Linked DNA regions of Homo sapiens: regions 1, 2, 3, 4 and 6 are each linked to region 5. The links are contacts of gene promoters, found by promoter capture Hi-C in human tissues and cell types (Jung and others, 2019). All regions are on one chromosome and are shown on one strand. The core of a region is centred on a gene start or on the middle of the fragment in contact, and the rest is flanking DNA. Distances in the headings are between cores, read along the strand shown.

What was found. The method cuts DNA at HindIII sites, captures the fragments that hold promoters and counts their contacts. A contact is called where the count stands out against the background at its distance.
Region 1: a contact is called between a fragment that was not itself captured here and the fragment with the promoter of MYL5 in region 5, in 1 of the 25 tissues and cell types used here (IMR-90 fibroblasts).
Region 2: a fragment that was not itself captured here is called in contact with the fragment with the promoter of MYL5 in region 5 in 1 of the 25 tissues and cell types used here (lymphoblastoid cells).
Region 3: a contact is called between a fragment that was not itself captured here and the fragment with the promoter of MYL5 in region 5, in 1 of the 25 tissues and cell types used here (lymphoblastoid cells).
Region 4: a fragment that was not itself captured here is called in contact with the fragment with the promoter of MYL5 in region 5 in 1 of the 25 tissues and cell types used here (dorsolateral prefrontal cortex).
Region 6: a contact is called between a fragment that was not itself captured here and the fragment with the promoter of MYL5 in region 5, in 2 of the 25 tissues and cell types used here (dorsolateral prefrontal cortex and lymphoblastoid cells).

The regions. Positions count from the first base shown.
Region 1 is chr4:1,039,300-1,043,157 of GRCh38, reverse strand. The region is part of intron 1 of LOC105374343 (a long non-coding RNA gene); the gene reads right to left. Among named protein-coding and RNA genes, the nearest start is that of FGFRL1, 30 kb to the right of the region's middle. RefSeq lists silencers at 1,058-1,239, 1,620-1,818 and an enhancer at 3,348-3,858. The HindIII fragment of the contact is 9,265 bases long and covers 1-3,858 here.
Region 2 is chr4:351,874-355,566 of GRCh38, reverse strand. The region is part of intron 3 of ZNF141 (zinc finger protein 141); the gene reads right to left. Among named protein-coding and RNA genes, the nearest start is that of MIR571, 3.6 kb to the right of the region's middle. The HindIII fragment of the contact is 3,181 bases long and covers 1-3,004 here.
Region 3 is chr4:368,940-372,340 of GRCh38, reverse strand. The region is part of intron 3 of ZNF141 (zinc finger protein 141); the gene reads right to left. Among named protein-coding and RNA genes, the nearest start is that of MIR571, 20 kb to the right of the region's middle. The HindIII fragment of the contact is 3,666 bases long and covers 1-3,401 here.
Region 4 is chr4:213,975-217,704 of GRCh38, reverse strand. It overlaps the pseudogene ZNF876P. Among named protein-coding and RNA genes, the nearest start is that of ZNF732, 90 kb to the left of the region's middle. The HindIII fragment of the contact is 3,201 bases long and covers 329-3,529 here.
Region 5 is chr4:672,743-676,325 of GRCh38, reverse strand. MYL5 (myosin light chain 5) reads right to left here and starts at 1,784. Exons shown (of 9, transcript NM_002477.2): 1 at 1,643-1,784; 2 at 117-253. It overlaps ATP5ME (ATP synthase membrane subunit e), which reads left to right and starts at 2,050. Exons shown (of 4, transcript NM_007100.4): 1 at 2,050-2,114; 2 at 2,360-2,414; 3 at 2,925-3,023. The coding sequence starts at 2,079. RefSeq lists enhancers at 1,214-1,283, 1,161-1,918 and a silencer at 1,494-1,763. The HindIII fragment of the contact is 2,744 bases long and covers 1,511-3,583 here.
Region 6 is chr4:386,904-390,740 of GRCh38, reverse strand. No RefSeq gene overlaps it. Among named protein-coding and RNA genes, the nearest start is that of MIR571, 39 kb to the right of the region's middle. The HindIII fragment of the contact is 3,449 bases long and covers 319-3,767 here.

The DNA.
Region 1 (3,858 bases), core at 410-2,909, 370 kb before region 5:
GTGGGTGGGTACGCGTGTGTGGGTAGGTGTGCGGTGGTGGGTGTGTGTGTCAGTGTGTGGGTGTGGGTGTGTGGGTGTGTGTGTGTCAGTGTGCAGGGGTTGGGGGTGTGCATGTGTGTGTCAGTGTGCAGGGGTGGGTGGGTGGGTGTCTTGTGCAGATGTGTGTGTGTCAGTGTGTGGGGGTCGGTGTGTGTGTGTCTGCGGGGGTGGGTGTGTGGGTAGGTGTGTGTGTGTCAGTGTGGGGGTGGGTGGGTGTGTCAGTGTGCAGGGGTGTGTGTCGGTGGGGTGGGTGTGTGTCAGTGTGCAGAGGTGAGTGGGTGGGTGTGTGTCAGTGTGCGGGGGTGGGTTGTGTGTCGGTGTGCGGGGATGGGTGGGTGTGTGTTGGTGTGTGGGGTGGGTGTGTGGGTAGGTGTGTGTATCGGTGTGCGGGGGTGGGTGTGTGTCTGTGCGGGGGTGTGTGTCAGTGTGCAGGAGTGGGTGTCAGTGTGCAGGAGTGGGTGTGTGTCAGTGTGCGGGTGTCACTGTAGGTGTGTGTCGGTGTGGGGGGTGGATGTGTCAGTGTGTGGGGGTGGGTGTGTGTCAGTGTGCGGGGGGTGTGTTTGTGGAGGTGTGTGTGTCGGTGTGTGTGTGGGTGTGTCAGTGTGCGGGGGTGTATGTGGAGGTGTGTGTGTCGGTGTGTGTGTCGGTGTGTGTGTGGGTGTGCATGTGTAGATGTGCGTGTGTGCATGTGTGGGTGTAGGTGTGGAAGTGGGTTGGTGGGGGTTGGGTGGGGGTGGGTGTATATTTGTCTGTGTGTTGGTGTGTGGGGGTGGGTGTGTCTGTGTGTGTGTGTGTAAACTTCTGCCCAGTCCCTGCTGGGGGGCACTCTCAGACTCAGTATTTGGGGAGGCTGAGGGAGTTGAGGAGAGCAGCAGGACCCTGGACTTGGAGAACGGTTTGGAGGACGGTGGTCTTTGGTGGCTGCTCAGCTCCTTATGGCCCCAGGTGCAGGTGACTTGGTCCTGACTCCATGTTTCCTGCCAGCAGGGGAGTGTGGCCTGGTGGGTGGGGGCCCCCAGGGGAGGTAGGGCTTGCGGGAGTGTGGATACCCGGCTCCTTCGGGTGTGGCGGCACCAGTGTCCCTCCTGCCCGCTGTGCTGGTTGCTTCTCTTACTTTGCTCCCACACGGGATGTCTCCCTTTATTCTATTTTCACTTGCAGTGCTTCTGGTTTCTCCACTTTTACATCTTAGACTGAAACTTGGCAGAAAACGATGCACGATAGGATGTTTCTGAGCCAAGACCCCTTTGAGGACAGGCTGGCTGCTGATTCGAGAGCACGGCCCAGAGCATTCAAGGAGAACATCCTTGCTGTTGGGTTTGTTTTCTTTGCAGAGTGGAGCTGTGGAAGCCGACGGACACTCCTGGCTGGCTGCAGCCAGGCAGCGCAGAGGGAGGTGCGTGTTGGCAAACGTTTGTAACGCTCACTGAGCGGTGAGCAAGACGGGGCGTCGTGCTCGCCTTTTGTGAAAAGGAACAAAAGTGCTGCCGGATTCCTGGCCTGGGTGGAGCCCCATTCACATGACCCCCAGGGGCTGGGGTCACCCCCTGAGGTCCCTCCGTGGCTCCTCGCCTGCTCCGGTGGGGCTGGGGGAGGTGGCTTAGCTGAGGCTGCACCTCCGGGGGAGGAGCTGACAGGCGCCAGCACACACATGCAGGGGTGTGTGTGTGTGTGTGTGTGTGTGTGCACTCGCCAGCGCCTCCCCCCGGGGGGTGCAGCCTCAGCTAAGCACACACACACACACACCTACATGCACACATGTGCACCGACACACACACATGCACACACAGTTCTAGAATGACCACCCTCACCACCTCAAGACTGGCCATCGGAGGGGCCACACTCAGAGGCACGGCGGCTCGAGTGGCCAGCGCCAGCAGGCGGGAGCAGCAGGAGGGGAGCGGGTGCCGCCAGCCCTGCGGTGGCCGTGGGCCTGCCACCCATGAGGCCGAATTGCTCATGGAACTCATGGCCCCAGCTCCAGCCCTGTGGAACCAGCGGCCCTCCCACCCTCCACAGGGGCAGCTGAGCTTCCAAAGGCGAAGGCTGGAATCCAGTCCTTGGAACAATTTCCAGATGTTTTTGGCGTTAAAGTGCCTCCTGTGAAACTGGGGGTGCAGCCGGGCTGCCAGCCTGGGGTCTCCGGTCTACCCAGTGGGCACTTTTGTCATTTGGTCTGGCAACCATGCCACTCTGAAGAATGCTCTCTGCCCTCCAAGGAGAGCAGCCAGCCAGCGGGAGGCCTGTGCCGGGCAGTGGGCACGGGCCCTGACCCCAGCTTGGGGAGGGGCCTGGCATGGCAGGAACATCCTTACAGGCCCCAAAGCTTTAGCACAGTGGGAAGAGTGCACGGCACCTCTGAGCCTGCTCCCCAGGGGCACTAGGCCAACCAGGAGCCTGCCTGCCAGCACCCTCCGCAGCCCACCCTGCCTGGGTGGACAGACGGAGGCAGCCTGGGACCCCCTTGCCACGTGCCCCTCTGCAGTCCTGGTCACCCCATTGTTCAAGGGGTGCTAGGACCCTGAGCACTGCCCTGACCCTAGGCAGTAGGGAAGTGAGGGACACACACACGAGAACACACACGCCATCCACACACACACACACACACGAACGCACACGCCATGCACACACACAGAGCACCCACATGTGCACTTGCTCAAGTGTGCACAGACGCACGTGCATGGAAACCCCAGTACACGTGTACATCCCCACTCATGCACATGTACACACACACACACGAAACCCCAGCCCCACACACAACTACAGCACCAGGTGACACCTTTGCAGAAAAGGGATCGTGAAGCCTCAGACCCAAGTCAGGACTCAGAGCCCGGAAGCCTGTGTCTGCACCGGGCTCCCTCGCCTCCTGCCAGTGAGGCCCTGCCAGGCTGGGGAGGTGCCTGAGGGAGCGGCAGGAATGCAGAACCTGGGCACACCTGGGAGATGAGGCCTCCTACAGCCAGGCTCCCTGACCACGGTGTGGGCTGCAGCCTGCCATGGCCAGGTGCTGCCCATTTCAGGACCGAGGGTTCCTCAGTGACAGGCCCACAGGCTCCAGGCCACAAGGACCTCAGTTTCCCCACCTCCCTGGACCTGGGCTTGGGCCCCAGTTGCCCATCTAGGTGGCAGGGGCCCAGTGTCCCTAGGCTGTGACAACAGGGCTGCTCCCCAGAACTGCAGCACCAACCCTCCCCTCCCAAGGCCCCCAGCCCCTCACTCCCACTGGGCCGGGTGCCCACCCTCCACAGGGCCGGCAGGAACAACCACATTGGCCTGGTGAGCACTCGTTTGGGAAACTGGATATATTTGCAATTTTTAAAACGCTCAGAGCCAACATTCAAAATGGGGCTGTTTTTCCAGTGGAAAATGTAACATGAGCCCAGAACCACTCCCGCTCACACAGAGGCCCGCCCCCACCACCACCGCCACGCCTGGGCCAGGGCTTTACTCAGGGCCAAGCCTGGCCAGCTCCTGCGGCCCCGGCCCAGCACCCGCCACCCCCCCACACACCTGAAGCCTTCAGACCAGTGTGCAGGAGAGGCTGAGGGCAGCTGCCCAGGGCAGACAAGGGCGCAAGGGGCAGGCAGAAGGCCCTGAAGACCCCCCGCCATGGCTGGGTAGGCTCTGTCTCAGGGGTGTTCAATCAAATCAAGGGCCGCTTGGCCTCATACAGCCAGGCCCCTCTGCCCCCCAGGTGCCACAGAGAACCCGGCAACCACAGGGCAGACCCTTCCCCTCCACGGGGCCCCCATGGCCGACACACCCTGGACGAAGCCAGCAGGAGTGAGGTTGCCTCTGGGGTCTGTGGGCCCAGGTGCT
Region 2 (3,693 bases), core at 165-2,664, 320 kb after region 5:
AAGTGTAGGAATGCCTATATTTATATGAGACTAAATAGACATCTAGAAAAAAATCTGTCATAGCTGGGCACGATGGCTCATACCTGTAATCCCAACACTTTGGGAGGCCCAGGCAGCAGAATCACCTGCAATCAGGAGTTCGAGACCAGCCTGGCCAACATGGTGAAACCCTGTCTCTACTAAAAATACAAAAATTAGCCAGACGTGATGGTGGGCACCTGTAATCCCAGCTACTAGGGAGGCTGAGGCAGGTGAATTGCTTGAACCTGGGAGGCAGAGGTTGTGGTGAACCGAGGTTGTGGTGAACCAAGATTGCACCACTGCACTCCAGCCTGGGTGACGGAGTGAGACTGTCTCAAAAAATAAATAAATAAATAAATAAAATAAAATAAAGAAAAAAATTCGTCATTAAAAAAACTTCATTATATAGTGATGAGGCTAATTTGTCAAAAGAATATAACGATTAAAAATATTTATGTATCCAATATTGGAGCACACAAATATATAAACATATGTTAACTAAACTGGAGAAAAAAACAAATATGATAGTAACAGTATAATTTATATTCTTCTCAAACACACATGGAACACTCTCCAAGACCTGTCATAAATCTGGCCCACAACAAAAATAAACAAGTCTTTTCATTTTTAAACAGACTGAAATCATATCAAGTTTTTAAATCACAATTTTATAAAACTAGAAATCAACACCGGAAGGAAATTTTAAAACTTACAAATAAATGGATATTAAACAACATGCTTCTGAACAACCAATGGGTCAAAGAAGGTAAAAGGAAATCATAAAGTATTTGAGAAAAATGAAAATAGAATCATAATATATAAAAATGAATGTAACAAAAGCAGTTCTGGGAATTTTATAGTAATATATTTTATATTTTAAAAATCTCAAATAAACCAACTTTAATCCTCAAAAACTTGAAAAATAACTAAATAATCCCAATGTTAGCATAATAAACAAAATAACAAAAATCAGACCAGAAACAAATTAGAGAATTAAAAGACAACAAAAAAGATAAAAGGCACAGAAAGAATTTACATATAAAAGTTTTCTAAATCAAAGGTTTTAAGAAAAGGGAGGAGAGTAAATACTCTTTATTTTCCAATGTGAGGATTAAGCCTCTTATTTCTATTTTGCATTTACATTTACAATAACCACACCCAAAAACTTTGCCTTGAACTCATAGAAACCTGATTTCCAGCAGGCCCTGGACTTAGGCACCTGCAGGGTGACCTTGGGCATGCTGTGTTCACATGAGAGAGGGTCTGTGGGGGGAAAATGCAGAATAAGAAAAGGTGCTATCAAGAACCATGGGTGAGGATCAGTGCACAGTTGGTAAAAGGACTGGTTAGTGCTCTAGATATTCACCCAGGCAGGGCACCTCTGACTTATAAATGTGTGCATACAGGGAGATGAGATGGTCAGGTGATCCAGAAGCCTATTCTACTGGAGAAAACAGGTTACTGGTGCAGATTCAAGATCTGGCAGGTAGAAAGAGCCCATGAGTCTTCTGGGCACTTATGTAGCCTATTAGTGGAAAACCCTAGAAGCAGAGGTGCTCTCAGCACAATTCCTGAGTGAAGCTTTGTCATGAGAGAAGCACGGCCATACCATTGCTTAGCGTGCATGTGTGTGAATGAGCAGAAATCACATTGTAGCAGCAGGTGGAGAGAAGAGTCTGCCCTCAGAAGTCCTTCCCTTTAAGTCCTCAGTCCCCTATGGAGGAGACGTAGAATCACATTACACCTAACTGTGACAACTTGTGTGCAAAAGAAGTAAAACTCTCAGCGGGGAGTGGTGGCTCATGCTTGTAATCCTAGCATTTTGGGAGGCCAAGGTGGAGGGATCACCTGAGGTCAGGAGTTCCAGACTAGCCTGGCCAACATGGTGAAACCTCGTCTCTACTAAAAATACAAAAAATTAGCCAGGCATGGTGGCACACACCTGTAGTCCCAGCTACTTGAGAGGCTGAGGCAGGAAAATCACTTGAATTCAGGAGGTGGAGGTTGCAGTGAGCCGAGATCTCGCCACTGCACTCCAGCCTGGACGAGAGTGAGACTCTGTCTCCAAAAAAAAAAAAATAATAATAATAATAATAAATTAATAAACTCTCCATTCTTCAACAGACCCACCATCTCCTTCTGACCAAGTCTGCTGTGATTTTTTTTTTTTTTAGACAGGGTCTCACTTTGTCACTCAGGCTGGAGTGCACTGGCATGATCTCAGGTCACAGCAGCCTTGACCTCTGAGGGTTCAAGCAATCCTCCAGACTCAGTCCCCCAAGTAGCTGGGAATACAAGTTCGTGCCACCATGCCTGGCTAACTTTCTGTATTTTTGGTAGAGGTGGGATTTCACCAGGTTGCCCAGGCTGGTGCTGAATTCCTGACCTCAAGCCATCTGCACTCCTCGTCCTTCCAAAGTGCTAGGATTACAGGCGTGAGCCACCACATCCAGCCTGATTATCTTTATTCCAACACCAAATATATGGAGTTTGCTGAACACCAACCAATCCTCCAACACAAACTGGGTGCCCAACAACTCAATTCTGACAACACCCAGGGTCAGCACAGACCCCACAAGTTCAGACCCAGTTCCACAACACTGCTTCCGCTGCACATGCCAGTCACAAACTCCAGGGGCCCACCTACACTTCTGAGCAACTGACTATAAATCATGGGCTTCCCTAACTCCCTCCCTCAAATTTAATAATTTGATAAAACTACTCACAGAACTTAGCAAAAACGATTTATATGTTTTCCAGGTTATTATATTGAATACAGCTCAGTAAAAGCCAAAGGGAAAAAATGTATAGGACAAAGGAAAGTGGGGGAAAAGATGAGGTGGGTAGTGAATCTTGGTAAATAGCTATGACTAAGGTCTCTCCAATCCTTTGTGATCCGCAAGAAACGCTTATTGCAAAGAAATACCCTTTTCACTATGATTTTGAAGATGCTCCCTCTTAGATATCACAAATTCACAAACTCTACATTCCCCCAGGCCCCTGGACTCTGCTCCACCTTCAGTCTGAGCTAGCATACAACCCCTCTTGATGCCCCTCCCAAGAACAGGCTGACTTCAGGGTGAAACATTCTCCAATCCTGAATCTGATTTTGCCATTCTCCATTCTGCCTTCTCCCTCTCCCACCTTCCTCTTTTTTTTTGAGACGGAGTCTCGCTCTGTCACCAGGCTGGAGCGCAGTGGTATAGTCTTGGCTCACTGCAGCCTCCGCCTCCCGGGTTCAAGTGATTCTCCTGCCTCAGCCTTCTGAGTAGCTGGGACTACAGGTGCCCACCACCACGCCCGGCTAATTTTTTGTATTTTTAGTAGAGATGGGGTTTCACCATGTTGGCCAGGATTGTCTCCATCTCTTGACCTCCTGATATGCCCGTCTCGGCCTCCCAAAGTGCTGGGATTACAGGCGTGAGCCACCATGCCTGGCCCTCCTACCTTGTTTCTAATCTTGTTTGCTCCTCTGTATGAAAAATAGCCTTTTTCTGCCTCATTTTGGAGATGACTTCAGGTCTTATGCTTGATGCTTTCCCCACTGCAATACTCCTTAGAATAAACTCACTTCTTACCTACATCAAAATTTATTTTACTTGACAATATGTAGAAACAGCCCCATGACAATAACAATTACACCCTCTCAGAGGATATCACAACCTCCTCTCA
Region 3 (3,401 bases), core at 376-2,875, 300 kb after region 5:
GAAGTATCAACTCCTGGCTTCTTCCTTTAAAGAGAAGAAAAATACTGATACACATATCCTTACTTCTGGCTTTTGAGTGTCTTTACAAAACCTGGTTTCTGTCTCCAATACCACAGAGTGCTGATAGAAATGGTGATACACTTTGGGAGGGATTGGGTCTGCTGAAAGCAAATGTAAATGTTTCAGGAGCAGACTGCAGTGCTAAATACAGGCAACACGTAGAACAAGTGATTAGAGACTGTTAAGAAGAAACATGAACAAACCCTTTTAACTGAAAAATAAACACAAAATTCCAGAGAGGACACATCCTTAGAACATGTATGAGAGGTTACCATAATCTCTATCAAGGACAATTGGTTTCAGACTATGTCAGGAAAAAGCTACATTGTAAAGATTGTGACAAATAGCTTTTTGTTAATGTACAAATAACAACCAAACATGACAATGTATACAAAATATTAGAACAACACAGTCCAACAATTTAAAAATTTTCAGAAAAGGGAACGGGCATGGTGGCTCACACCTGTAATCCCAGCACTTTGGGAGGCTGAGGCGGGTGGATCACGAGGTCAGGAGATAGAGACCATCTTGGCTAACATGGTGAATCACCGTCCCTACTAAAAATACAAAAAAACTAGCCAGACGTGGTGATGGGTGCCTGTAGTCCTAGCTATGCGGGAGGCTGAGGCAGGAGAATGGCGTAAACACAGGAGGCAAAGCTTGCAGTGAGCCGAGATCATGCCACTGCACTCCAGCCTGGGAGACACAGCGAGACTCTGACACACACACACACACACAAATTATCACAAAAGGTGAGGCATGGTGGCTCATGCCTGTAATCCCAGCACTTTGGGAGGCCGAGGAGGGCAGATCACGAGGTCAAGAGATTGAAAACATCCTGGCCCAAATGGTGAAACTCTGTCTCTACTAAAACTACAAAAATGTGCTGGGCATGGTGGCCCATGCCTGTAGTCCCAGCTACTCGGAAGGCTGAGGCAGGAGAATTGCTTGAACCCGGGAGGTGGAGGTTGCAGTGAGCCAAGATTGCACCATTGCACTCCAGCCTGGGTGACAGAATGAGACTCCATCTCAAAAAAAAAAAAAATTCCAGAACAAAAATTAAAAATGAAGATGTACAAAGTTTTAAAATTTGACCTGAATAAAACTCAATGAGCTAAATGGTAACAAAACTAAATATAATTAAAATATATATATATATATAAATGAAAACATTAAAAATATAAAAAACATGGAGGTGAAAAATACAAAAATAATGCCTGAGAAATTTTCAAAAGTTAAAAAAAGATGTGGCCAGGCATGGTGGCTCATGCCTGTAATCCCAGCACTTTGAGAGGCCGAGGCTGGTGGATCAGGAGGTCAGGAGAGTGAGACCATCCTGGCTAACACGGTGAAACCCTGTCTCTACTAAAAATACAAAAAAAATTAGCTGGGCGTGGTGGTGGGCACCTGTAGTCCCAGCTATGCGGGAGGCTGAGGCAGGAGAATGGTGTGAACCTGGGAGGCGGAGCTTGCAGTGAGCCAAGATTGTGCCACTGCATTCCAGCCTGGGCAACAGAGCAAGACTTTCATTTCAAAAAAAAAAGAAGGAGCTCAACAAACTTCAACTAGGATATACAAGGAGATTTATAACAAAGCACATAATAAGCAAAGTTTTAAAAGTCAAAGGCAAAAATGGAATCTTAGAAGCGGCAAGATAAAAGTGATGTGTGATTTGTAAGTATGCTCTTATAAGATAACAAGTGAATCTGTCAACATTTTTTCAGACAAGAGAAAGTTGCGATATAGTTAACGTGCTGAAGGAAAAATAGCTTCTAAGTAGGAATAATATAACCAGTAAAACAGTCCTAAAAATGAAGAAAAAGTAAAGGCCTTTCAAGATAACCAAATGCTGAAAAGTATATTAGCACAACACCTGCCTTATAAAAAAAAATGCTGAACTATCTTCCATTGAAAATAACAGGATGCAAGAAAAAAAATATGATGATATGAAAATACATAACTTTCTGAAAAACATATGCACAAACACAAATATAAAGTTCTGTATCATTATAATAGTGCAAAAAAGTTTTTCTCTAAAATTTAAAGGATAAAAGCATAAAAATGATTATAAACTATTCATCATAATCTGGTAATAAATATACAGCAAAAAAATATGATTAGTGACATCAATAACAACATTCAGGGCAGATGTAAAGAGGAAGAATTTTCAAATGCAATTCAAGTTACATTTTTAAGAGTTTAAAATATATTATTTTGGCCAGGCCCAGTGGCTCATGCCTGTGATCCCAGCACTTTGAGCGGCTGAGGCAGGTGGATCACGAGGTCAGGAGATCGAGATCATCCTGGCCAACATGGTGAAACCCCGTCTCTACTAAAAATACAAAAATTAGCTGGGCATGGTGGCGTGTGCCTGTAGTCCCAGCTACTCAGGAGGCTGAGGCAGGAGAATCGCTTGAACCCAAGAGGCAGAAGTTGCAGTGAGCTGAGATCATGCCATTGCACTTCAGCCTGGGCGACACAGTGAGACTCCCTCTCAAAAAAAAAAAAAAAAAAAATATATATATATATATATATATATATATCTCTTTAAGAAATTTTTCAGAATTCCCAAGATACCACAAAGGTATAGATACACAAAAGTATAAGAAGTAAAGTCCTATCAACACAAAAATCTAAAAGACAAACAGGAAGACAGAAAAAGAAAATAAGGGACAGAGATAAAATAATCCAGTAAAACAATTTATAAAACAGGTAAGCCTTTCTATTTCAGCAAATTATTCAAATATTTATGAAGTAAACTTTCCATTCAAAATACATGCACCAAATAAAGGGACTGATTGCAAAAATTAAAAAACAAGATCCAACTTGTTTTTCTACAAGAGTCACTTGAGGTCTAATGATTAAAGGAGACTGAAAAAGGCAAGATGAAAGAAGACATTTCATGGAAATAACCAAATAAGAGGAGAACAGGTCCAAGTTATATAACACAAAGTACATCTTAAGTCAAAAACTCTATTTCATAAAATATACTTTAACTAAAAGCTCATAAGGGGCAAAGGAAGACATTAAACAATAATAAACAAGTTCATTTACTTAGAACCCATGATAAATGTGGGTATACATATATTAATGTGTGTGTGTGAGTGTGTGTGTGTGTGTGTATCTTACACTAGGGTTCAAAATATACAAAGCAAATACTGACAGAATTAAAGCAAGATATAGGGAGCAATGTAATTGTAGTAGGATATTTCAATACCCCAATTTCTATAATGAATAATGAAACAAGACAGAATATTCATAAAGGAATAGAAGACTTGAAAGCAGTATAAAACAATTTTGCCTAAAAAGAAGATGTCTAAATTCCTTAATGCAATCTCCAG
Region 4 (3,730 bases), core at 680-3,179, 460 kb after region 5:
AGCAGGCACAGCACACAGGGTCCCTTACCCCAACACAAATACTTTTCATCTGAAGACCACCAATCGTCATCCTGAAACATGGCATTCTCTGCAGGCCCTTCAAAGGTTACAGAGGCTGGAGATGGTGGAAACGTCTGAGTAAGTCTGCATTTGAAAAACATGTGCACATGCATTAATGTGATCTTTATGGAGCATGTACTATGTGTGCAGAAGTATGTCACAGAGCACTCTGCTGGGAGGCTCACAGTATGTGTGTTAATTCTCATAACATCCTGGGAGATGGGTACTAAGTGTCCCGTAATTCCTAGGATTTTCCCCATTTATCTGCTTTTGTGTTTCAGGAAATTGGGAGCACCAGCTCTGGAGAGGCAGTAGGAGTAGCCACCCCAAACTCTTATCTCCTCTAAGCAGTTCTGTGAGAGATTTCAGTGTGGATTAGACCTGGACAAGATTCAGCAGAGGGTGGATCTGGGCAGGGTTGGGATAGAAGGTGGGTCCTAGGCTTCTGCTCTCTAGGCCACTAAATATTTTCAGTTTTGTTTTTCCTAAGCCTGCCCAAGAGAGATTTTATTCCCAGAGTTTGTGTAATTTTAATCTATTTTAGACACTTCCCTGTCTATATTACAACATACAATAAGAAGGAATTTAACCAAAACCCTTATGTTTTTCTAGACCAATTATATTAGAAGCTAAATACTTATTCTTAGCAAGCTAAAAACAATACAAATAATAACAACTTCTCTTCTGTCCAGAATAGCCCTTCAGGTGGAGGGATCAAAACTTACAAAATAACAAAAGGGAAGTAATGCAAATGAAGCTTAAGCTTCCTATGCAGTTTCTGTCTCTGTACTGAACACATGATGCTGAATTCAACCATTTATTCATGTGCTCTGGACTGCAAGTTCCTTGATGGGAGGGACCACAACTGCTTCGTCTCTTTTTCTAATGACCATATAAAATAGAAGCAATTAGCTTATTAATCAGTTTGAGTCTCCAGAACCAGAAAACTGGAACAACTCTTATCTGGTTATGAACCAATGAGATTCTTTCTGTGAGGGGAGGAACAAACCCTTGATAAGTCATTTCTCTTTCTCTGAAATGGAACCAGAATTAGACTTTCTTGTCAGACTGACCCCAGTCTGCTTTGGACATCCTCAAATGTCTCAAATAACTCACTGATGCTGGTGAGAGTGTCCTCAGTGACCCTGGGCTGAAGCCCCCCATAGTGATCCAGGCAGGAGAGACTGAGGCTGACTTTGTGGAGTGCAAACAGAAAACAGAACTGCCCTGGTAGAGCTGCAGATCCTGGATCCAGATGTGATGTGCACTGTCCCTGATCAGCTAACTCTGAGACAAGAGGAAAGATGAAAGTACTCCAGTACCCCAGTATACAGGATGGCATACTTGTGATTATGGTTGTGATTATGGCTCTGTATATTTTGTGGCCCTGACCTCTCACTGCTAAGGTGCGTGTTAACACCTACAGATTCTGCCACAGGATTCTGTTCACACCAGAAGCCTCTCACACAGGTGACAAGACCTGGAAAACTCAAAGACTCCACTCTGAAAGTGGGGTTTAAGAAGACTATGTTGACTTTTCATGATGCAGAAAATGCCTTCTGTGAGTTTTCTGTATGTCTTCAACCCAAAATCTGGCCCTGTCTTGTGACTCCTAGGCAGAAGCCAGCTTTTATGTGCAGATGCTAGGTGGGATCAATGCGCCTCTGCATTCTTGGGGATTACAGCAAACAGAGTAAAACCAGAGAGAGCCTCTCATGGAGGCTCCTTCAACACATTCTGAAGAATATTTCGACCTAAAAGGAAAAAGCTGGGGTAAATAAGTAGAGAGTTTATTTGGGCCAAAGCTTGAAGATTGCAACCTTGGGGTATATAGCTGCCCTGAATATACACTCCAATTAGAAGCAGTTACAAGTGTATTTTTAAAGGCAAAAAAGAAGGCAGAGAGGAGACTGATACAAAGTTGTTAGACATTCCTATTGATTTATAGAATTAAAATTGGTTAGTGGCTGGCTATATATGTTAAGCCACAGAGTGTGGGTTATAGTGTCCATTGTGGTATTATTAGGTTACTTTATAGCCACTGATGGCAATAGCAAGGAATTTCAAAAAACAAATAGTTCAAAGAGGGGAACAGTAGGACTGTGGTCTCATTTTAACAAGTCTCTGGGTCTGATAATTAAAAGAACTTGTATTTCTCAGATAAAAGTGCTGTTTTTCTCTCAAATCCCAGGACATAAATTCAGAATTTGGAACTGCACATTTAGGTCCTGGAGGGCTGGTGAGCTATGGACATTTGTGGGCATTTGGGCAAGGGGAGAAGGGACAGAATTGAAGTTATCAGGTTTAATCAATGCACATGTGTGATCCTGGTTGGGTGTATGGGCCCCATGATGTCTGAACCAGTGTCAGATCTGAAGATGCCAGGAGCACACACGGAAGTGGAATAACTGATGGCTGTCCTGAAAAGTTATTTTTGTAGAAATATAGTCTAACTGCTCTAGAAATGACTGTAGATCCCAAATAGAGAAACCTTTTTGTTTGCAGATTTGTGGAGCACTTTGCTGCACTTTGCCACAAAATTGTGGATTGTGGCTGGAATCCTTAGAAGGAAGGTTTTCTCTAAAGGGAAGCCTGGTGGGCACTTTGTGTATACCATCTGGTAATTCTGGACAGTGTTTGGAAAATATAACTAAAAGCAAAATCATCTCCAATCCTAAAATACTCTCCAAAATAATATTAGAGCAAGATAATGATTTGTTATTTAATTAAACCAAAATATGATGTACATCACAGGCAATCTACTAATAGATTGCAAATACAGAAAGAACGTCACCGTTAGTACTCAAGTACAAGACATGACAGCACCATTTGTCATACACAGTTTATAATAACGTCAACTAATTTGGGAGGTCATCTGGGTTTTCTAATTGGTAATATTAAAAACAAACAACAACAAAAAAACAAACACTTCCCATATCTTCATGATAGGACATAGTTTTGAAATGTGGAGCCAGGTACCTGCTGAAGGCAGCCTCCTACTCGCCTACAGAAACTGTGGCATAGGGTGTATATTCTTGCTATTCGCATTTCCTAGCAATAGTTCCCAGGTCCTAAAGACAGTTTTGAGTCAAAAAAGACAAATGACCTAGTTAACTGACAAAAATGATTTACATATTTTTCAAAGAAGCAGAGAAAATGTTTAAATATAAAAGTTTTCAAACTAAATGCTTTAAGAAAAGGGAGAAGAGCAAAAATTCTTCCCTCATTCTAAAGAGAAAGCATTAAGCCTCTTCTAATTTGTATTTGGTCCTACAACAGGCAAGTCTAAAGGCATGGTCTTGAACTCACTAACATCTGAATTCTTGTAGCACATGAGGGATGCACTTGAGCAAACTGTGTGCACAGGAAAGAGGATTTGTGGGTAAGAAAAGAGCATAAGAGAGAAAGGAGCTATCAAGAGCCTTGGGTGGGGGCAGGGCAGGATTGATGAAAGGACTGGTTTGTGCTACAGGTACAGGCCCAGGCAAGACTACGCTCTGACTGATTCCTGAGTCCATAAAGGCAGAGGAGATTAGGATCAGGTGGTCCAGAAGCCTGGGTAGGTGAAGAAAACAGATTCCTGCTGCAGATCTGGGGTTGAGATGAGCGTGGAGTCTTCTGGGCACTGTGTGTATTCTTAGGAGAAAACTGTAGGAGCAAAGCTGCCATG
Region 5 (3,583 bases), core at 535-3,034:
GTCCCCCTCACCCCCTACCTTGGGCCCCAGAGACACTTATTTTTGATTCTGGAAGCAGGAGTTGCTGAGGAGTCTGGATTATTTTAAACTCCAGTGAAGGGAAAACCCATTGTCACCTGAGGCCGTCTGCCCTGGCGGAAGCGGGGGCTTGCCGAGGGCCAAGATGGTTCTGTGCCTTGTGGATCCAGTGTGCACCTGCGGCTTCCTCAGCGAGCAGTAGACACGGGGAGGGCTGGAGTTTGCTTCTGGCCCCCTGAGGACAGGGTTCAGGCAGAGGCCTCAGGCAGGAGTCTTCAGGGACTGCCAGCCAACCTCACAGAAGCTGGAGAAAAGATCAGGTGGCCCTACAGCAAGTACCTAACCTTTTTGGCGCCTGGGACAGGTTTCACGGAGGACAGTTTTTCCGTGTTGGGGAGGAAGGTTTCGGGATGAAACTATTCCACCTCAGTTCATCAGGCATTAGATTCTCACCAGAGCGCAATCCAGATCCAAGTGCGCAGCTCACAGTAGGGTTCACGCTCCTATGGGAATCTGATGCCCAGGCTGATCTGAAAGTGGGTGGAGCTCGGGCAATCATGCTCCCTCACCTCGTCCTGTGCTGCCCGGTTCCTAACGGGCCACAAGCTGGTACTGGTCTGCACCTGGGGGTTGGGGACCCCTGCCCTATAGGACTGGCCTTGGTATACCCAGCTCAGGAAACAGAGCCCAGTGACTTCCTAGTTTCTCAGCCAGAGAGGCCCAGGCCCTGGACCCCAGAGCAAGCCAGGAGAGGGGGCAGAGGCGACTTAGGCCCGGACAGGTAGCCCAGGCCGCCAGGATCACGGGTCCTCCCCATGCTTGCTTCAAGAGTCCTGGAGTTTGTGATGCTGCACCTTAGCGAGACCCGAGCCATAGTTCTCCAGTTGCTTCTGCCTGTAGCAGTGCAGGGCCAGGAGGGGACACAGGAGGCCTTGCGTCACTACTGCATGGGGCCAAAGGGGGCCCGAGGGTGGCCCAGCACGGGCAGCATGGCTGCCGCCAGGAAGACCCAGAACGTGGAGGGGGTGCCAGGCTCCTGCCTAGACTCCAAGCCTGGTGTCCATGGGGCTGGCGGGTCAGCACTTCGGGCACAGCGGGGAGGCTGCATAGGCACCGCAGGCCCCATCTCTGGGCAGCTGTGGGAGACACACAGCTACCGGGAGGTGGACAGAGGCCAGCAAAGACCAGTGTGGGGCTCAGTGGTCCCCAGGCCTGGGCCGGGGCAGGCCCTTGGAGCCGTGGAGTCCTGAGGCCTGGAGTCGGGGGACCCAGGGAGCAGCCTCTGTTGGGGGCTGGTCTTCCCAAGAAGATCCCAGCCCCTCTTCGGGACAGAAGTGATGGGGCATCCTGGGGTGAGGAAGCTCCAGCTCCGGGATGAAGGGCGCCCCGTGCTCCCGGGCAGAGCAGCCGCAGGAAGAGGGGCCTGGAGGCCATGCTCCCGCGGGCCGCGGAATCCAACGCGGCCCGGCCGGCGACAGACACTACTGCCTTGTAGGAGAAGGACCTGCCCGGGGAGCCACCTGCACTCGGCTCACACTCCGCTCCCAGGACCCCCAGGTCCCTGCCCAGGCCACCCTCGGGTGGGCGCGGTCCGCGGGGCTGGACCCGCCCGAGCCGCCCTGACCTCAGGCCTCCGACGCTCCGCGCAAGAAGACAGAGTGCGCCCCGGCCCGCAGTCTGGGGTGTGGACACACGGCCAGGACGCGGACGGCGGGGCCTCGGCAGCAGCGCGGGGAAACAGCGGACCCCCAGCCCTGCGGGGAAAGGAAACCCCCCGCCCACTCGGCGCAGATCCCGCCTCACGCAGCAACTGCGCAGGCGCAGCCGATGATCCTCCGCGCACTCCCCAGCCTTTGTGCGCGTGCGCCTCACGTGACGTCACCGCCGCGCGGGGGCGCGCAGTCACCCTTCGGTCGCCAGGGGGCGCGGCCCCCCGCTCTCTCGCCGCTGACGGCGCATGCGTGCGCCCAGCTCCGCCTTTGCCTCCAAGGCTTTGCTGGCTTGTGCGGCATCCTGCTCCGTCTGCAGGTTGTGCTTCCGGTGCGGAGGTCAGGGACAAGATGGTGCCACCGGTGCAGGTCTCTCCGCTCATCAAGGTGATCCAGGCTTTGCAGCCGCCGCCCAGTGCTCTGGGCCCCCCCGTGTCCCGCCCCGCAGCTCCGACCCCGCGGGCTGCGACCCCCGGCCCCCGCCCCCATGATCCTCGCCCCGTGACCCTCGCCCGGCGACCGGACCCCCACCCCTCCTGCGACCTCTGCCCAGCGACCCCGCCCCCCCTCCTCCCGCGACCCCCGTCCCGCGAGCCCCGTTTCGCGCCGCCTCTGACCAACCTCTTTCGCAGCTCGGCCGCTACTCCGCCCTGTTCCTCGGTGTGGCCTACGGAGCCACGCGCTACAGTGAGTGACCGCGGGCGGGGCCGGGGCGGGGTCTGCTCGGCTTTCCTGTGGAGCTCCTGTGCTATTTGGAGAACTCCAGCTCTGGAAGGGGGCTTGGGACGCATGCGAGGCTGCAGGACCGTGTCCTCCACCGAGCGTGACCCCGATAGTGGAATCAGCTCACCCAAAGCTCAGGCTTCTGAGGCCCGGGCGGGGGACTCGAAAACGGCTGCTTCTTGGTGAAAACGGGTGCTAAATGGCTGTTCGAGTGCTGAGGTCTTGATGGGAGGCAGTCCCTGTTCGCAGAGGACGAGTGAGCCAGTGCGTGAGCGGGTGGGCAGCAGGGGCCCTGTAGCCTCTGGGTTGGACTCGTCAGGGTGAAGGTCAGGCGTTGACTCGCATTAACATAAAGAGCGGGAACAGCAGGTGCGTCTGGTTTACAGCGTCGCTGAAGATACCTTGACCTGTGGACTCAGTTCCTTTTGTACAGCATTTCCAGTGAATTTTATTCTCCTGCATTCCGCCAAACAGATTACCTAAAACCTCGGGCAGAAGAGGAGAGGAGGATAGCAGCAGAAGAGAAGAAGAAGCAGGATGAACTGAAACGGATTGCCAGAGAATTGGCAGAAGGTACGAGTGACACTGGCTCTTATAGATTGTCCCTCCCAGGTTTGTGCAGGGATAAGGAAAATGGAGGAGGACATTTAAGCAGAGCTAAGTAGATGCGGATTGTTTAAAAATGGGGAAGCTGGCCAGGCGTGGTGGCTCATGCCTGTATCCCAGCACTTTGGGAGGCCAAGGCGGGCAGATCACCTGAGGTTAGGAGTTCAAGACCAGCCTGACCAACATGGTGCAACCCTGTCTCTACAAAAATTAGCCGGGCATGGCCCGGTGCGGTGGCTCATGCCTGTAATCCTAGCACTTTGGGAGGCTGAGACAGGCAGATTGCCTGAGCTCTGGAGTTCGAGACCAGCCTGGGCAAGATGGTGAAACCCCATTTCTACTAAAATACAAAAAATCAGCCGGGCATGGTGGCAGGCACCTGTAATCCCAGCTACTCAGAAAGCTGAGGCATGAGAATTGCTTGAACCCGGGAGGCGGAGGTTGCAGTGAGCTGAGATCACGCCACTGCACTCCAGCCTGAGCAGCAAAGTGAAATTCTGTCTAAAAAAAATTAGCCAGGCATGATG
Region 6 (3,837 bases), core at 794-3,293, 290 kb after region 5:
CGGAAAACAGAACTGCCCTGGTAGAGCTGCAGATCCTGGATCCAGATGTCATATGCACTGTCCCTGATCAGCTAACTCTGAGACAAGAGGAAAGATAAAAGTACTCCAGTACCACAGTATACAGGATGGCAGACTAGTGATTATGGTTGTGATTATGGCTCTGGATATTTTGTGGACCTGACCTCCCACTGCTAAGGTGCTTGTTTACACTTACAGATTCTGCCACAGGATTCTGTTCACACCAGAAGCCTCTCACATAGTTGTACCAGGTGACTAGACAAGATCTGGAAAACTCAAAGGGCTCCACTCTGAAAGTGTGGTTTAAGATGTCTATGTTGACCTCTCATGATGCAGAAAATGCCTTCTGTGAGTTTTCTGTATGTCTTCAACCCAAAGTCTGGCACTATCTTGTGAATCCTAGGCAGAAGCCAGCTTTTATGTGCAGATTCTAGGTGGAATTGTAGCAGGACGAGCCACAGACAAAATCTCTCGGACACCGAGTTGTAGAAGGAAGGGCTTTATTCAGCTGGGAGCATCAGCCAGCTACTGTCTCAAAATCCGAGCTTCCTGAGTGCACAATTTCTGTCCCTTCTAAGGGTTCACAACACCAAAGATTTCACATGAAAGGGTCGTGATTGATTTGAGCAAGCAAGGGGTATGTGACAGGGGCTGCATGCACCGGTGATCAGGAACAAACAGAACAGGGCAGGGAGTTTCACAATGTTCTTCTATACAATGTTTGGAATCTATGAATAACATCGGCTTCTAATTCATAAGTTGATTTTTAACTACTGGGTTTAGGCCAGGCAGGCTGAGGCCTGGCGCCGGGCTGCCTGTCTTTGATTTTACTTCCTTGTTGTTTTTACTGAGTATGAAACAATATAAAACAATATGAGAGGGTCTCTCCTCTCAGAATCAATGTGCCTCTGCATTCTTGGGGATTACAGCAAACAGAGTAAAACCAGAGAGATCCTCTCATGGAGGCTCCTTCAACACATTCTGAAGAATATTTTGACCTAAAAGGAAAAAGCTGGGGTAAACATAACTAGAGAGTTTATTTGGGCCAAAGCTTGAAGACTGCAAGCCCGGAGTATAAAGCTGCCCTGAACATACACTCCAATTAGAAGCAGTTACAAGTGTATTTTTAAAGGCAAAAAAGAAGGCAGAGAGGGGACTGATAGAAAGTTCTCAGACATTCCTATTGGTTTATAGAAGTAACACTGGTTAGTGTCTGGCTATATATATGTTAAGCCATAGGGTGTGCATTATAGTGTCCATTGTGGTATTATTAGGTTAATTTATAGCCACTGGTAGCAATAGCAAGGAATTTCAAAAAATAAATAGTTCAACGTGGGGAAAAGTAGGACTGCGGTCTCATTTTAACAAATCTCTGGGTCTGATAATTAAAAGAACTTGTATTTCTCAGACAAAAGTGCCGTTTTCTTCTCAAATCCCAGGATATTAATTTAGAATTTGGAACTGCACATTTAGGTCTTGGAAGGCTGGTAAGCTATGCACATTTGTGGGCATTTGGGCAAGGGGAGAAGAGAGAGAATTGAAGTTCTCTGGTTTAATTAATGCACTTATGTGATCCTGGTTGGGTTTATGGACCCCATGATGTCTGAACCAGTGTCAGATCTAAAGATGCCAGGAGCGCTAAAAGAAATGGAATAACTGATTGCTGTCCTGAGAAGTTATTTTTGTAGAAATCTAGTCTAACTGCTTTAGAAGTGACTGTTCCCAAATAGAGATCCCAAATAGAGAGATTTTTTTTTTTTTTGAGATGGTGTCTCACTCTCACCAGCACTTGCCCAGGCTGGAGTGCAGTCTCGCGACCTTGGCTCACTGCAGTCTCCGCCTCCCGGGTTCATGCCATTCTCCTGTCTCAGCCTCCCCTGTAGCTGAGACTACAGGTGCCTGCCACCACGCCCAGCTAATTTTTTATATTTTTAGTAGAGGCAGGGTTTCACGGTGTTAGCCAGGATGGTCTCAATCTCCTGACCTCGTGATCTGGCCACCTCAGCCTCCCAAAGTGCTGGGATTAAAGGTGTGAGCCACTGCACCCGGCTGTTTTTTTTTTGCAGCTTTGAGGAGCACTTTGCTACACTTTGTGCACTTTGCCACAAAATTGTGGATTGTGACTGGAATCCTTAGAAAAAAGGTTTTCTCTCAAGTGAGGCCTAGTGGGCACTTTATGTATAAATCTGGTAATTCTGAACAGTGTGGTAACTATAACTAAAAGCAAAATCATCTCTAATCCTAAAATACTCCCCACAATAACAGAACAGCAAGAAAATGTTCTGTTATTTAATTATACCAAACTATGATATGCATCACAGGCAATCAACTAATAGATTGCAAATACAGAAAGAACATCACCGTAATTAGTTCTCAAGTACAAGACATGACAGCACCATTTGTCATACACAGTTTATGTCACCTAGTAATTTGAGAGGTCACCTGGGCGCCTGTAGTCCCAGCAGGGTTTTCTAATTGGTAACATTCAACAGCAACAAAAAAACTTCCCACATCTTCATGGTAAGACGTAGTTTTGAAATGTTGAGCCAGGTACCTGCTGAAGGCAGCCCCCTACTTTCCTACAAAAACTGTGGCATAGGGTGTATAGACTCTTGCGATTTACATTTCAAGACAATAGTTTCCAGATCCTAGATAAAGACAATTTTCAGTCGAAAAAGACAAATGACCTAGTTAACTGATAAAAATGATTTATATATTTTTCAAAGAAGCAGAGAAAATATTTAAATATAAAAGTTTTCAAATTAAATGCTTTAAGAAAAGGGAGAAGAGCAAAAATTCTTCCCACACTCTAAAGAGAAAGCATTAAGCTTCTAATTTGTATTTGGTCCTACAACAGCCTGTTCTAAAGGCATGGTCTTGAACTTACTAACGTCTGAATTCTTGTAGGCACCTGAGGGATGGACTTGGGCACACTGTGAACACAGGAAAGAGGATTTGTGGGGAAGGAAAGAGCAGAAGAGAGGAAGGTGCCATCAAGAGCCTTGGGTGGGGGCAAGGCAGGACTGACTAAAGCACTGGTTTGTACTATAAGTGCAGGCCGACGCAGGGCTACACTCTGACTGATTCCTGAGTCCATAAGGGCAGAGGAGATTAGGATCAGGTGGTCTAGAAGACTGGGTGGTGAAGAAAGCAGATTCCTGCTACACATCTGGGGTTGAGATGAGCCAGGAGTCTTCTGGGCACTTTGTGTGTTCTTGGGAGAAAACTGTAGGAGCAAAGCTGCCATTGGGCACAATTTCTGAGGGTAGAAACCTATCCTGGAAGGAGTGTGGCCATGCCAATGCCCAGTGGGTGGGCTCAGGAGTGGGTTAGCATTGGGTGGGGGCTGGCAGCATGGTGTGAGGAAGGATGTTTCTCAGAACTCCTTTCCTCTAAGTTTCCAGTCCCCTCTCTCCCTCGGAGGAGACCTGGAGGAACAGGACAGGGCCCAGCAGGACTGCGCATGTGCAGAACCCAGTCACGCCTCCCGCAGACACCATGCTACTCCCTCCAGCCCAGGCTCAGCCCTGTCTTTCTTCTGACAGAAAACGTGAGGAGTTTGCTCAACACCAGTCAATGCTCCAACCCCAAAGCGGTGTCCAGCAACTCACTAAAGACGCCACCCAGAGTCAGCGCAGACCCCACAAGCTCAGCGCTCTTCTCGCAGTTGCCCCCCTGCAGGCACCGGTCCCTGCCTCTGGACACCCGTCTTCATTTCTGAACTCCCGCCTACAAACCAGGGGCGCCCACACCCTCCTCAAGTTCAATAATATGGCAGAACTACTCACAGAACTCAGCGAAGCGCTGTGCGCGCCCACA